Linked DNA regions of Homo sapiens: region 2 is linked to region 1. Evidence: promoter capture Hi-C in 16 types of primary human blood cells and fetal thymus (Javierre and others, 2016). All regions are on one chromosome and are shown on one strand. The core of a region is centred on a gene start or on the middle of the fragment in contact, and the rest is flanking DNA. Distances in the headings are between cores, read along the strand shown.

Region 1 (6,482 bases), core at 2,838-5,337:
ATGGTGTATTTATACCTCACTGCAGCCTGGCACTTGTAGGCTCAAGCAAACCTCCTGCCCCAGCCTCCTGAATAGCTGGGACCACAGGAGTGCACCAGCATGATCAGCTAATTTTTAAATTTTTTTTTGTAGAGTAGGAATGTCACCTTGTTGCCCAGGCTGGTCTCAAACTCCTAGCATCATGGGAACTTCCCACCTCAGCCTTCCAAAGTTCTGGAATGACAGGTGTGAGCCATGCACTCAGCCAGATGTTATAATTATATTACTAGTATTTAACAAAAATATTTTAATTAAGTAAAATGATACAATTATTGCTATTTTGCAGGATGATTTAAAGATTAGGTCACATTTTAGCATATCTGATATTGGAGTGGTATTTATAATTCATAATTTTTATATGGTAGCATTTATAATTGGTAGCATTTAAAAATCATCTTATTAATATAGAAAATAGTAGGGTATCACACAATCCATGAGGTCTTACATTAAGTAGAATACTGTATACACAGCAGGTCTAGGGCAATTCTAGGAATCTAATTGACACTTAAATACATTTTAATTCCTCAAAGTACCATGGGGAAAGAGCACTGAAATAACAACATATTTTTTAAACAAATTACTTCTTACTTTGATTTTTAAAAATGGGAAGCTGGCCGGGCCCAGTGGCTCACGCCTGTGATCCCAGCACTTTGGGAGGCCGAGGCAGGTGGATCTCTAGGTCAGGAGTTCAGGACCAGCCTGGCCAACATAGTGAAACTCTGTCTCTACTAAAACTACAAAAATTAGCTGGGTGCGGTGGCAGGCACCTGTAATCCCAGCTACTCGGGAGGCTGAGGCAGGATAATCACTTGAACCTTGGCAGCAGAGGTTGCAGTGAGCTGAGATCACGCCACTGCACTCCAGCATAGGCGACAGAGTGAGACTCTGTCGCAAAACGAAAAAACAAACAAACAAACAAAAAGAAACGTGAAGCTAAAGGAAACTCATGATTGAGATGAACAGGTATGGCTCATTTTAGTCAACACTTAGATTTACAGAATATATGCAAATCAGACTTTCCAATGATTAATATTAGTATTTAAGACTGATAAATTTTCAAAAGGGCAGTTAAAGGTTATCTCTTATTGTTTTCTACCTTCAGAAAGGCTTTTGCTTGAAAGGTGGGAGGAAAAGCTTCAGTGAGATTAAGTTCTACTATTCCTATTTTAAATCTCTCATCTTGCTCAGGCAGAACAGGTAAACATAAAGTTTTTAAGTATGGAAGGGTCCTGAGAGATAGTGCAAAATGTTTGCTACATAACATATTCGAGTTATGTTTGATGAATAAATGGATTGATAGAATACAGTTGGGGAGCTCAATATTTTTAAATACAACTTCTATAAACCAATATTTTTGTGATAGTAATAATATTTGCTATTTGTTATTTTGATAAGACTACAACTATAATGAAATGATTAATCTATCATTGTTTGCCTATATGTAATGAATCTATACATAAGAAAAACATATATACATAATAAAGTATATACATAAAATCTGCAAGCACAGATAAAAAGATTCCCTTTTTACTTCTGAAGAAGCTAAAAGTTCAAACCCTCACAATAATAATGATAAAAAATAGTGAGAAATTATTTTTATCTGTTCAAGAGTCATATTTCTCTTCCCAAAATTTATTCCATTAATAATAAATTTTTACTAGAAATTTTATAAATGCTCACTTCAGAAATCAAAGGTAAGAAAAAGGAACAAAAAACTTTAAAATACAAATGCTCAGAAGTTACAAATTTTATCCTATTTTGTGCATAGTATTGCCTAACACCAGACCATAGTATGTTTGTGTGTATGTGCAAGCAAACTGATTTGTTTTTCCTCACTGGCTGTAACAAAATGCATCTTCACATATCAACATACTTCTCCACCTATTGCCACCTTCAATGGCCACATACCATTCTATGGGTTCTTGTTAACATAAATGCTGGGGAAAAAAAGTGCATGTATCTCTATTTTCTGAAGGTATTTTAATACAATGGAATTGATGGGTAAAGGGCATATACATTTTTAAAATGTGGTAATTATCTCCAAATTATCCACTTGAAAAGTCATCAGCAACTTAAACTTCAAGCAGCAGTGTAAGTGCCACTGCTCTTCATTCTCACAAACACTGTGGATAGAACACAGTCTCACTCCTCTTTTAACTTATCTTATGAGAAACACTAAGGATTTTTTCCTATGTACATAAGTAACTTGTGAATCTGCAAAAAGTGCTTTGCTCACTTCTAGAGTTCTTTTCTTGTGGATTTGATTGGAAAGAATTCCCTGTAAAATAAAGATGTGCTTTTTATCTGTATATATATAACTGATATATATATATAACACATTATATTAGTAATATATACAATTTCTTATACATATAATCAGTAATATGTATTATATATAATAAAGAATAAATTCCCTGTAGGATGAAGATACACTTTTCATCTGAATATATATTTTTATATATTAGTAAAAATATATATAGGAAATATTTTTCGAGTGTGTTATCTTTTGTTAATTTTTTTCTGATACACAGGGGATTTTAATTTTTAGTTTGCTAAATCAACTTTCAGAATGCCTGCTTGCGAGGTCATTCTTACGAAGGCCTTTGTTAACATAAAATGTACCTGTATAAATAAGTCTTTGCGTTTTCTTCTGGTACTTTTTCTCATTTTGCATGTGTAAAAATTTCAGTCTGAATTCCATCAGGAACCCATTTTTGCGACATAAAGTTTCATTAGTTTTCTTCACACAGCAGGCATTTTATTAATAACTCATCTTTTCCTACTCATCTGAAACGTTACCATTATCCATCCCTATGTATATATCTTACATATATTTCAGTGTTTTTGGATTTCCTGTTCTGTTCCATTTATTTATCTGTGTTTTCAGCTGTTAGTAAATAATTAATTGTGGGAATTAATAGCACATTTTGATATCTAGAGGAGCAAGTCTTTTCACTCCATTATAAACATTTTTAAATGTCATCACAATGGTAAGATAGATAGCAAGTGTCATGCAAAAATGATAAAACCTTGATATCTTCATTCAGTTTATGTAAAACTGATAAACATGGAAACAGTTCATATTTTGAGAAAACTGAGTCTTCCCATTCAAGGAACCCACCTCGCGCTTCCCAGTGTCCCTCTAAGAAGCTCCAGTAAAGAACCTGTCTACCTAGGTGGATTCGGATGTAAAACCGACACAGGGTTTTATCTGAGAACTCTTCGCCTACTGAAAAAGGCTCATGGTATTTTTGACAGGGGAATGAGTTCTCATTAGGCACCTCCCTATCATGTATATGGCCCCATGTTTTAAACGTGGATATGCCTAACTTTGTGAGTTAAATCACTCAAATTTTCCACCAAGCGCGACGGACGGGGAATTGCCAGCGACGGAAAGCAGCTGAGGCTCCATTTGGCTCCGCTGCTCCGAGGGTGCCCGGCGCCCTCCAAGGTCCCCGCCCCAGGGGCTGCCGGGCTGCAGGGAAGCCGGGCCTGCGGCCCCCTCCCACCGCGGGCTGAGTCCCCGAGCTACCTGTCTTTTCTGTCGCGGGCGTCCAAGTCCCGGAACCTGCGCGTCAGGCAGCGCTCCACCTCCGCGGCGTCGCCCTTGATGGCAGCCCTGTGGATCTTCCGCAGTTCCCAGTCCCGAATGTCGTAACCCGGACCCGCATACTCTTGGTCCATGGAGCTCAGGAGCGCCTGGCCCAGGCGTCTCCCGAAGCTGAAGAGCTTCCTCATGGTGGCGACTTCTCAGACGCCCACCACCCGCTCCTGAGCCGCGGCGGCTCCTCGTGGCCTTTCCACCCCCACTCCGCCCCAAATCCGCGATCTCCCCCGCAACCCGCGATCCCCCCCGCAACCCGCGATCCACCCCCAAATCCAAGATCCACCCCCAAACCCGCAATGTAGCTCAGAATCCGCGATCCAGCCCGGTCCACCACAGCCTTCAGCAGCGACACTCGCAGACTCCGACCTCTCAGACCGAGTGAGCCCAGCTAAGCCGTTAGGCGCGCGCCTGAACCTCAGCGCTCCGAACTCTCAGACCGAGTGAGTCCCCGCGATGCCAGTTAGGCGCGCGCCTACAACTCAGCGCCAGCCGGGACTCCGGAAGCCGCTCCCAAGCCCTCGTGGCCGGCAGGGGGCACCTGCAGCACGGGCGCACGCGTCGCTGGCTTGCGGGTTCTCCTGGGCTCCCGCGGGACGTCCCGGAATCCCAGGAGTGCATCCCTTCCCGCCTGAGGGCCTGCCTGGCCCTGACTCCCGACCCGCTCCTCCTCCGAAGAGAGATCGGGGCCGCTGACAGGGGCCCTCCGCAGCCACCGGGGATGGGACTGGGGGGTCGGTTCCTGTCCCGGTGCAGCCGCCGCCGGGTAGACCGCCTGGCTTGGCCGCAGCCAGGGCGACATGTAGCCCCGGTTCTGCCAGGCTGGGAGCGCCAGCCATCTTGGGAGTTGCCAGGCAGCTGTCGCCAGCAGGTAGAGGGCGCCTGCAGCTTGGGCGCCCAGGTGGTGGAGCACGGCCTAGGCGGCCTCTGGATCGCGAGTGCACCTGGCCTGAGAGCCCGCCAGGCCCTGCCCCTGCTCGGCTCCTCGTCTGCTGAAGCTCGGGACCTCTAGCCAGTGGCCCTCTGCAGCCACGGGGAATGGGGCTGAGAGCCGGTTCCCGCTGCAGGGCAGACCACCTAGCTCAGCCGCAGCCACAGGGACATCTGGCCCCGGTTCTGAGATGTGGGGAGTGCTGGCGGGCTCGGGGGTTGCCTGGAGGCTGCTGCCTGCACACAGAAGGCGGATGCAGCTTGGGTGCCCAGGCGGGCTGGAGGTGCATGGCCTGGTCGGCCTCGGGATCGCCAGCGCGCCCAGCCTGAGGGCCCCCAGGCCGTGCCTCCCGCCCATTCCTCCACCGGAGGGGGATCGGGGTCGCTGGCATGGGCACTTGGCAGTCACTCCGGATGGGGTTGAGCAGGGGTTCTCAGTTTTCGCCCCTGTGCAGCCGCCGCCGGGCAGAATGCCTGGCTTGGCCGCAGCCACTGCTACACCTAGCGGGTCGGGCGGGCCGGGGGGTGAAAGCGCTGGGAGGCGGGTGCCTTCTCGCCCTGTGGCGCCTCTGGGCCCCACGGCTTGTCGGCCTCCGGCGCGCAGGGCTCCCCAGCATCCTGGGCGCCGGCCCGCTGCCTGCACAAAGTCAACTCAGACAGGATGAACTTCGGTTGCCTTGTCTGGCTGGGCTGCCAGGCGGGGCAGCTGACCTGCTGATGGGGTGACTTTCTTCATCTTCTTGCCCACAGGACAGCGGGCTGGGAAGCCAGGGGCCGCCGGGACCTGGGGCTGGAAACCACATCTGCCCACAGCCGCAGCCTCCTGCACCTGTCATCCTGGCGGCGCCCTGACGTCGGAGAAGCAGCAGGCGCGGAGCTCCTGCAGCGGGCACCGCTGCAGCAACCCGACCCGGCGCAGGCGGCAGTGGAAGGCGGCCTGCTAGCACGGCTCCCGCGGCCCCAGGACCAGGGGTGCGGCCAGCACCGCCCTCACTCCCCGCGTCTCGTGGATATTGCCCTCCCTGGAGGCGGCTGGACCTAAGCGAGGCTCGCAGCGATCGGCCCCGCGAAGACTCGCATGCAGGGCTCAGGATCCCGCATTCTGGCGCCGCGGCACCGCACCTTTCAGCAGCCCTGCTCCTCTTCTTGTTGGTAAACTTTTGTCACTCTGCCATGAAAAGCATCCAGGCGTCCTTGATTTCGACATTGCGTGCACGCTCAGCCGAGCTCATCAGACGGGCGGTTGTCCCCAGAGCCCGCGGGTAGCTTGTTCCCGGGCGGCGGCTCCTGCTGGATGCAGCTCCTTGTGGGCCTACCAGGCTTGGTGGAGCCACAGCAGACCTGTGGAGAGGAAGAGTAAGGCGGGCTCTGCAGGGCAGTGGGCCGGGACCATGAGAGAGGCGGGTCAGTCTGGGCTCCAAGCTCAGCCTCTCGGATTCCCCGGGACCCACGGCTTATAATGCGCTTAAATCCCACGCCTCGCCCGAGAGACAGCACGTCACCGTCACCGTCACCGCCTAGCGCCCCTGACCCGCTCCCACTCCGCTGCAGCGGAGGGTGTGTGAGGGAGAGGGACGCAGGGAGGGAAAAGCGTTGGGAGGGCAAACATCTTTTCATAAGCTTTTCCCCTTCTATATGCCATCTCTGATGGGAGCCTCTTTAGATCTTTCGTCCATTTACTAATTGGGTTGTTCGATTTCTTATTGTTGAGTTGTAAGTGGTTTTTAATGGTCTGGATGCCAGACAGGTGTTTTGCAAATATTTTCTCCGTCTGTGGCTTGTTTCTCCATTCTCTTATTTCCTTTCCCAGAGCAAAAGTTTTTAATTGTAACGACTTCATACCAATATCTTCTTTCATGGTAGAAATTTGTCTTTTATGTACTTTACTGTTGTATCTACAAAGTAATTG
Region 2 (5,007 bases), core at 598-3,097, 230 kb before region 1:
CAGCCTCCAACCTTGCCGCATGGGGGTCACTTCCTGTCTGCAGCTGGCCTCTCAGACCTGCCACAGTTTCCAATGCACTCTAACACGAGGACTGATACTCATTTTGCCATAAACTCACTCCCTCTATCAATGAGGCCTCTTAAGGATTGGTCAGTTAATCATTAAGTCAATCAGTCCTGGAGTGCTATGCCAAGTGCCCAAGGGGAGCTAGGCTGTCCACGTGCTGTGGGGGAGGCAGGAGGGCCTTGGCAAGGGGCTCATGCCGTTGCTGGAGAAACCCGAGGAAAGCATGGGCATCAAGGTGATAAGATGCCAATCATAGTGCCTTCATGGATGGCTAACTTTTGCAGCAAGGGCTGTGAACATGCTAAGGATGATATGGTAGCAAAAGATTCCATAGAGATGTAGCTTAAGGAAAGAACTAAGTGAATTAGGTCCAAGCAGTCGCATGTGAGCACCCTAGATCAGTGGAGAGGCAGGGATTTAATACAAGGAACTGGGTGCTTACAGACCTGCTGCAAGTGCCGGAGGCAGAAGCAAGCCTTAGCCAGACCAGGACCAACTCTCAGGACAATATGGACGTGGCCCACCAGCCTCGTGCCTGTCTGAGGCTACTTCAGACACCCTCCTGCAGCCTCCATTCAAAGAGCAGGAAGCCAGGTCAAGGAGCGGCTACAGCCACAGCGGCCGGTCCACAGCCAGAAAGCTGGAGAAGGGACAAGGAATGCTGCCGCAGAACATCTCCCATTTCTGCTATCCTGCTAGTGCCACCCTACAGGGGCAGGACAATACCCTCCAATGCGTGCCCGCCTTCCACATCCGGCAGAGTACTACTAATTGGCAGCACCTAGTCCACATCCAGAACTCTAACTGCAAATGAGGCTGGGAAACATGGCGGTTAGCTTTGGGACCTCCCTAGCCAGAAGGAAGGTGCAGCGAGGGTGGAGCGAGTGAGATGCATGTTCAGTGGTCCATCTTGGCAACCTTTATAGCAACAAAATGGAGACAATTAAATGTCCAACAGTTTACCCCTACAACAGAATTCTATGCCACCTTGGAGAGGATGATGTCATCTGTAATTAGTGATAGGAGAAAACTTCAAAATACAGCGCTAAGTTTTTAAATTTTTTTTAAAGCAGCACAACAGAGGTTACTATATGATTTTATTTTTATTAAAATAATTTTGAAAGATGCAGAGGAAACAATACTAGCAGGACGAACACCGTAATAATGGCTACCGTAGGTGAAGAGATTACAGGTGATATTTTTCTTCTTTTTTCATCCTTTCCTGTGTTTTCCAAGCTTTCTACACTGTGCATACATTCTTTTTGTCCTTAGGACAAAAATGTACTTTGAAAAATGCCCAAATATAAAATCTTCTTGAAGGAACTGAAGAAAGGAGCAGTGAAAGTGGAGGACAGAAATTAGTGAATCCTGGACAAAAAAAGTGAGGGAGAGGCGAGGCAGAGAAGGGGTTAAGGGGAGTCTCAAGGATGGCAGTCGATTAAGCAGCGTCTTGCAGCGGGGAGAAATGCAAAGTGTAGTTGGGGTTCGGTCTCCGAAAACTTTGCTGTGTGACCTGGGGAAGCCCCTGCCCCTCTCTGGGTATCTCTGTTTCCGCTCCCAAACCAGTGCCTTAGGAGCCTAGATCTGAGCAACGTGGACACTGGGCTTGCGGAGACCCGAGGGAGGGAGCGCTGAAGCGGTGCGGGCTGCCGGGGGTAGAGGGGCGGGGACCGGGAAAGACCGGGCGGGGCGAGGGAGGAGCGGCCTTGGCCGGCGACAGGACGTAGGCAGCGCCCCAGGCGCAGGCGGAGCCTCATTGGCCGCTGAGCCCCGGGCTGCGCGGAGGCGGGACCTGCGGCCAGCCCTGGGCGGCCATGTGGACAGAGCTGGGAGGGCCGGAACCAGAACCCAAGCGTGATCCTGAACCGGAGCCCGAGCCTGCTGCAGGTAACTAACGCTGGTCTCCCCTCGGCTCCCTCGGGAAGCCGCAGCTCCTGGCTCCGCGTGGGGGCTTTCCTCTCTGGGCCGCGGCGTCCGCATCTGGGGGCTGGCCTTTCCGCCGTTGCACTGTAGGACTCTCTCCACGTCCCCTAATCCCATCCCCCGCCTCTGGGTGACGCTACAGGAGCCCCGAGGACACAGACGCCCCCAGACCTTACCACGTTAGCTCGACCTCAACACTCCTGCCCACTCGGCCCACTTCAACAGAGGGCCCCTGACCATAGCCCAGAGGCTTGGACAAGCCCAAAGGTTGCGCCCTTTCCCCCGCAGAAGGGGTGAGGTGGGCGCCGCTGCAGTTCCCGCGGATAGAGAAGGTCCGGTCCTTCCCGCTGTGGGTGAACTGTAAAAAATTGCCTGTATTCAGGAGGATATGCAAAGCTAGGTTTGTGGAAGTCTGGGGTGAGGCTCCTATACTTTCTTGCTGTGTGTCCTCGGTGAGTCCCTGAACCTCTCTGATGCCCAGCCTTCTTCCAGAATGGGGGTCATCATCAACCCTGACCACCCAGGGACTGCAGAGAGGCTTGGCAAATTTCCCGTGAGAAGACAGCCTGCAAACTGTAAAGCATGATGCTCTGTGAGCTGTGATCTTCCTATCAGCAAGTGGAGGCCCCAGCAAGAACCCCATATAGGCCCCAAGAGTAGGAACGGCCTTGGTGTGGCTGCAAAGGTTTGCCAGCCTTGGCCTATGACCACCTCTCCTGACTGCTTCACCCCTCCAATCCTTACCCCATGGGTTGGTGACTCCCCTTTCCCCTACCTCCTTTTGGTCTCCTCACCCTCAGAGCCAGGCCTGTTGGTGGCAAGGGGGCTGTGTCCCAGCATATGGCAAAGTCCTGAGCTAAATGGAACCCTGGGCACCCCTGGCAGATCTGCTGACTCAGCTTCCCCCTGTGGGATATGATGAGGTTTCTCTTCAAATAATCTGATCAATCTTTTATTCTTTAATTCTTAGTATCCCCCCCTTTTTTTTTTTCATTTTTCTCCTTTTTGCCTTTGTTAGATGCCCAGGCATGCCACAGTACCAAGCGTTATCAGTACCAGCTCACATTCCTTTGCTTATTTGGAAAGAAGACTAACTTTCTAGCTCATTACAGACACCCTTTCCCCTTTCTCTCCACTTTCTTTTACGTGCCCACTCTATCTAAAATAAATCAAATGTTTAGCCAACCGGGATTAGTTTAGATTGTACGACCTGACCCCAGCCAATGGGGAAAGGGTACAGGGGCAGGACTTGCATCAGGAATAAAGGCTCTCGTGCCCCTTTGTTCAGGTGTGCTCTCATGGCAACTGGCCAAGGAGGCATCCCTCTGCGCAGAAGTAAAATTGCTTTGCTAAGAATCCTGTGTTCGAGTGTTCAATTTCCTTAGGATTTTGAGCATTATTCCTAACACCCGCAAGGGGAAGGGAAACTTTCTTGGTCAGCATTGATTATTATTATTTTTTTTAGATACAGTCTTGTTCTGTTACCCAGGCTGGAGTGCAGTGGCACAATCATGGCTCACTGCAGCCTCAACCTCCTGGGCTCAGGTGATTGCCCCCACCTCAGCCTCCCAAGCAGCTAGAACTACAGGCATGCACCACTATGCTCGGCAAATTTATTTTTGTTTTTTTGTAGAGACACGGTTCTTGCTATGTGCTCAGGCTGGTCTCAAACTCCTGGCCTCAAGCAGTCCTTCCACTTCGGCCTACCAAAGCGTTACCAGCGTAAGCCACCACGCCCATCACATTGATTTTTATGGGGCCGGGGACCTACATGGAGCCTTGCTTTCCTGATTGAGTTTTTTGTTCCTCTCCCTGCCCAGGGGTGGAGGGTGAGAGGCTGGGGGTGAAGGGACAGGCAGGTGCAATTCCATTTTACCGCTGGGCGGAGCAAGACTCATGAGACATCAAAGGCAGAGAGATTCAAATTCTGACTGAAGAATAACTGCTTCAACTAATCTGGGAACACTACACTCTGTTTAATTTTCATTTAATATGTATTATATGCCGTTTAAGTTTTATAACAGTAGTTGTTTTAACGAAGTCTACACTCTTCAGAGTTGTAGCTTTTCTTCTCAGCTGCCTCCTGACTTGCTGCACCTCTGGGAAAGCTGAAAAGGGATGCTGAGACCTGTGGTTGGGGGATGCTGGGCTAGGTCAATTTCTGAGGCACGGCCAGTTCTGATGTCCTGAGTGGAGCTTGCCAGGGTTTTTATATGCAAGACATCATTCAACATAACCCCATGAGGCATTTCACATATGGGGGAACTGAGGCACAGAGGTGAAATGAAGCAAGTCCCTCTCAGAGAACAACCATCTCCAAGTCCCTTTGATTTCTACTCAAGTCTTAGGTCAATTCTTAGACAGCCTTTGTGGCAATTTCAGTGTTTTCTCAGTGTATCATTCAGTACTGTGTGTTGAGCCGCTGCTCTGTAGCAGGCATACCTCTAGGCTCGGGGACGTAGCAGTGAATGGAACAGAAAAATAAGTTCCTGTGCTCATGGAGCTTGCATTTTACTGGGGGGAGACAGACAAACATATAAGCCTGTAAAGATAGTATTTGGGATGTGAGATAGAGAAGGAGTAAAGCAGGGTAGCGGGGATAGAGAGTGTTGGGGTGGGAAGGGTTGCAATTTTTTAAAGGGTGGTCAGGGAAGGCCTTGCTGAGACAGTGGCTTTTGAGACCCAGCAGAGGTGAGGGAGTGAGCTGAGGATAGGCGGGACGTGATGGAGTTGGCCCAGAGAGTTCATCAGGGCCCTCACAGCTCTTACAGTCTGTGTTTTTAGAGGTGACAGTCCTTTATGCTGGAATCTTGAAATGTTTGAGCTGGTGGGCCCTTGGGTACCGCCACCTGCCTTCTCCCACCTGTTCACCCTGGTTTCTTTTGTCCCTCTCCAGAGTGTCAGCATGCTGCGCTTCCTGGCACCCCGGCTGCTTAGCCTCCAGGGCAGGACCGCCCGCTACTCCTCGGCAGCAGCCCTCCCAAGCCCCATTCTGAACCCAGACATCCCCTACAACCA

What was found. The method cuts DNA at HindIII sites, captures the fragments that hold promoters and counts their contacts. A CHiCAGO score of 5 or more calls a contact.
Region 2: a contact is called between the fragment with the promoter of ALDH1B1 here and the fragment with the promoter of ANKRD18A in region 1, in 10 of 17 cell types (total CD4 T cells, non-activated CD4 T cells, total CD8 T cells and 7 more). The highest score is 10.1, in total CD4 T cells.

Annotation. Positions count from the first base shown.
Region 1 is chr9:38,616,509-38,622,990 of GRCh38, forward strand. ANKRD18A (ankyrin repeat domain 18A) reads right to left here and starts at 4,088. Exons shown (of 16, transcript NM_147195.4): 1 at 3,572-4,088. The coding sequence starts at 3,777. FAM201A (family with sequence similarity 201 member A) reads left to right here and starts at 4,580. Exons shown (of 2, transcript NR_027294.1): 1 at 4,580-4,857; 2 at 5,324-6,482. RefSeq lists enhancers at 4,734-4,853, 5,506-5,715. The HindIII fragment of the contact is 5,020 bases long and covers 1,172-6,191 here.
Region 2 is chr9:38,390,855-38,395,861 of GRCh38, forward strand. It overlaps ALDH1B1 (aldehyde dehydrogenase 1 family member B1), which reads left to right and starts at 1,848. Exons shown (of 2, transcript NM_000692.5): 1 at 1,848-1,953; 2 at 4,886-5,007. The coding sequence starts at 4,895. RefSeq lists a silencer at 1,615-1,934 and enhancers at 2,145-2,194, 2,235-2,324. The HindIII fragment of the contact is 5,526 bases long and covers 1,301-5,007 here.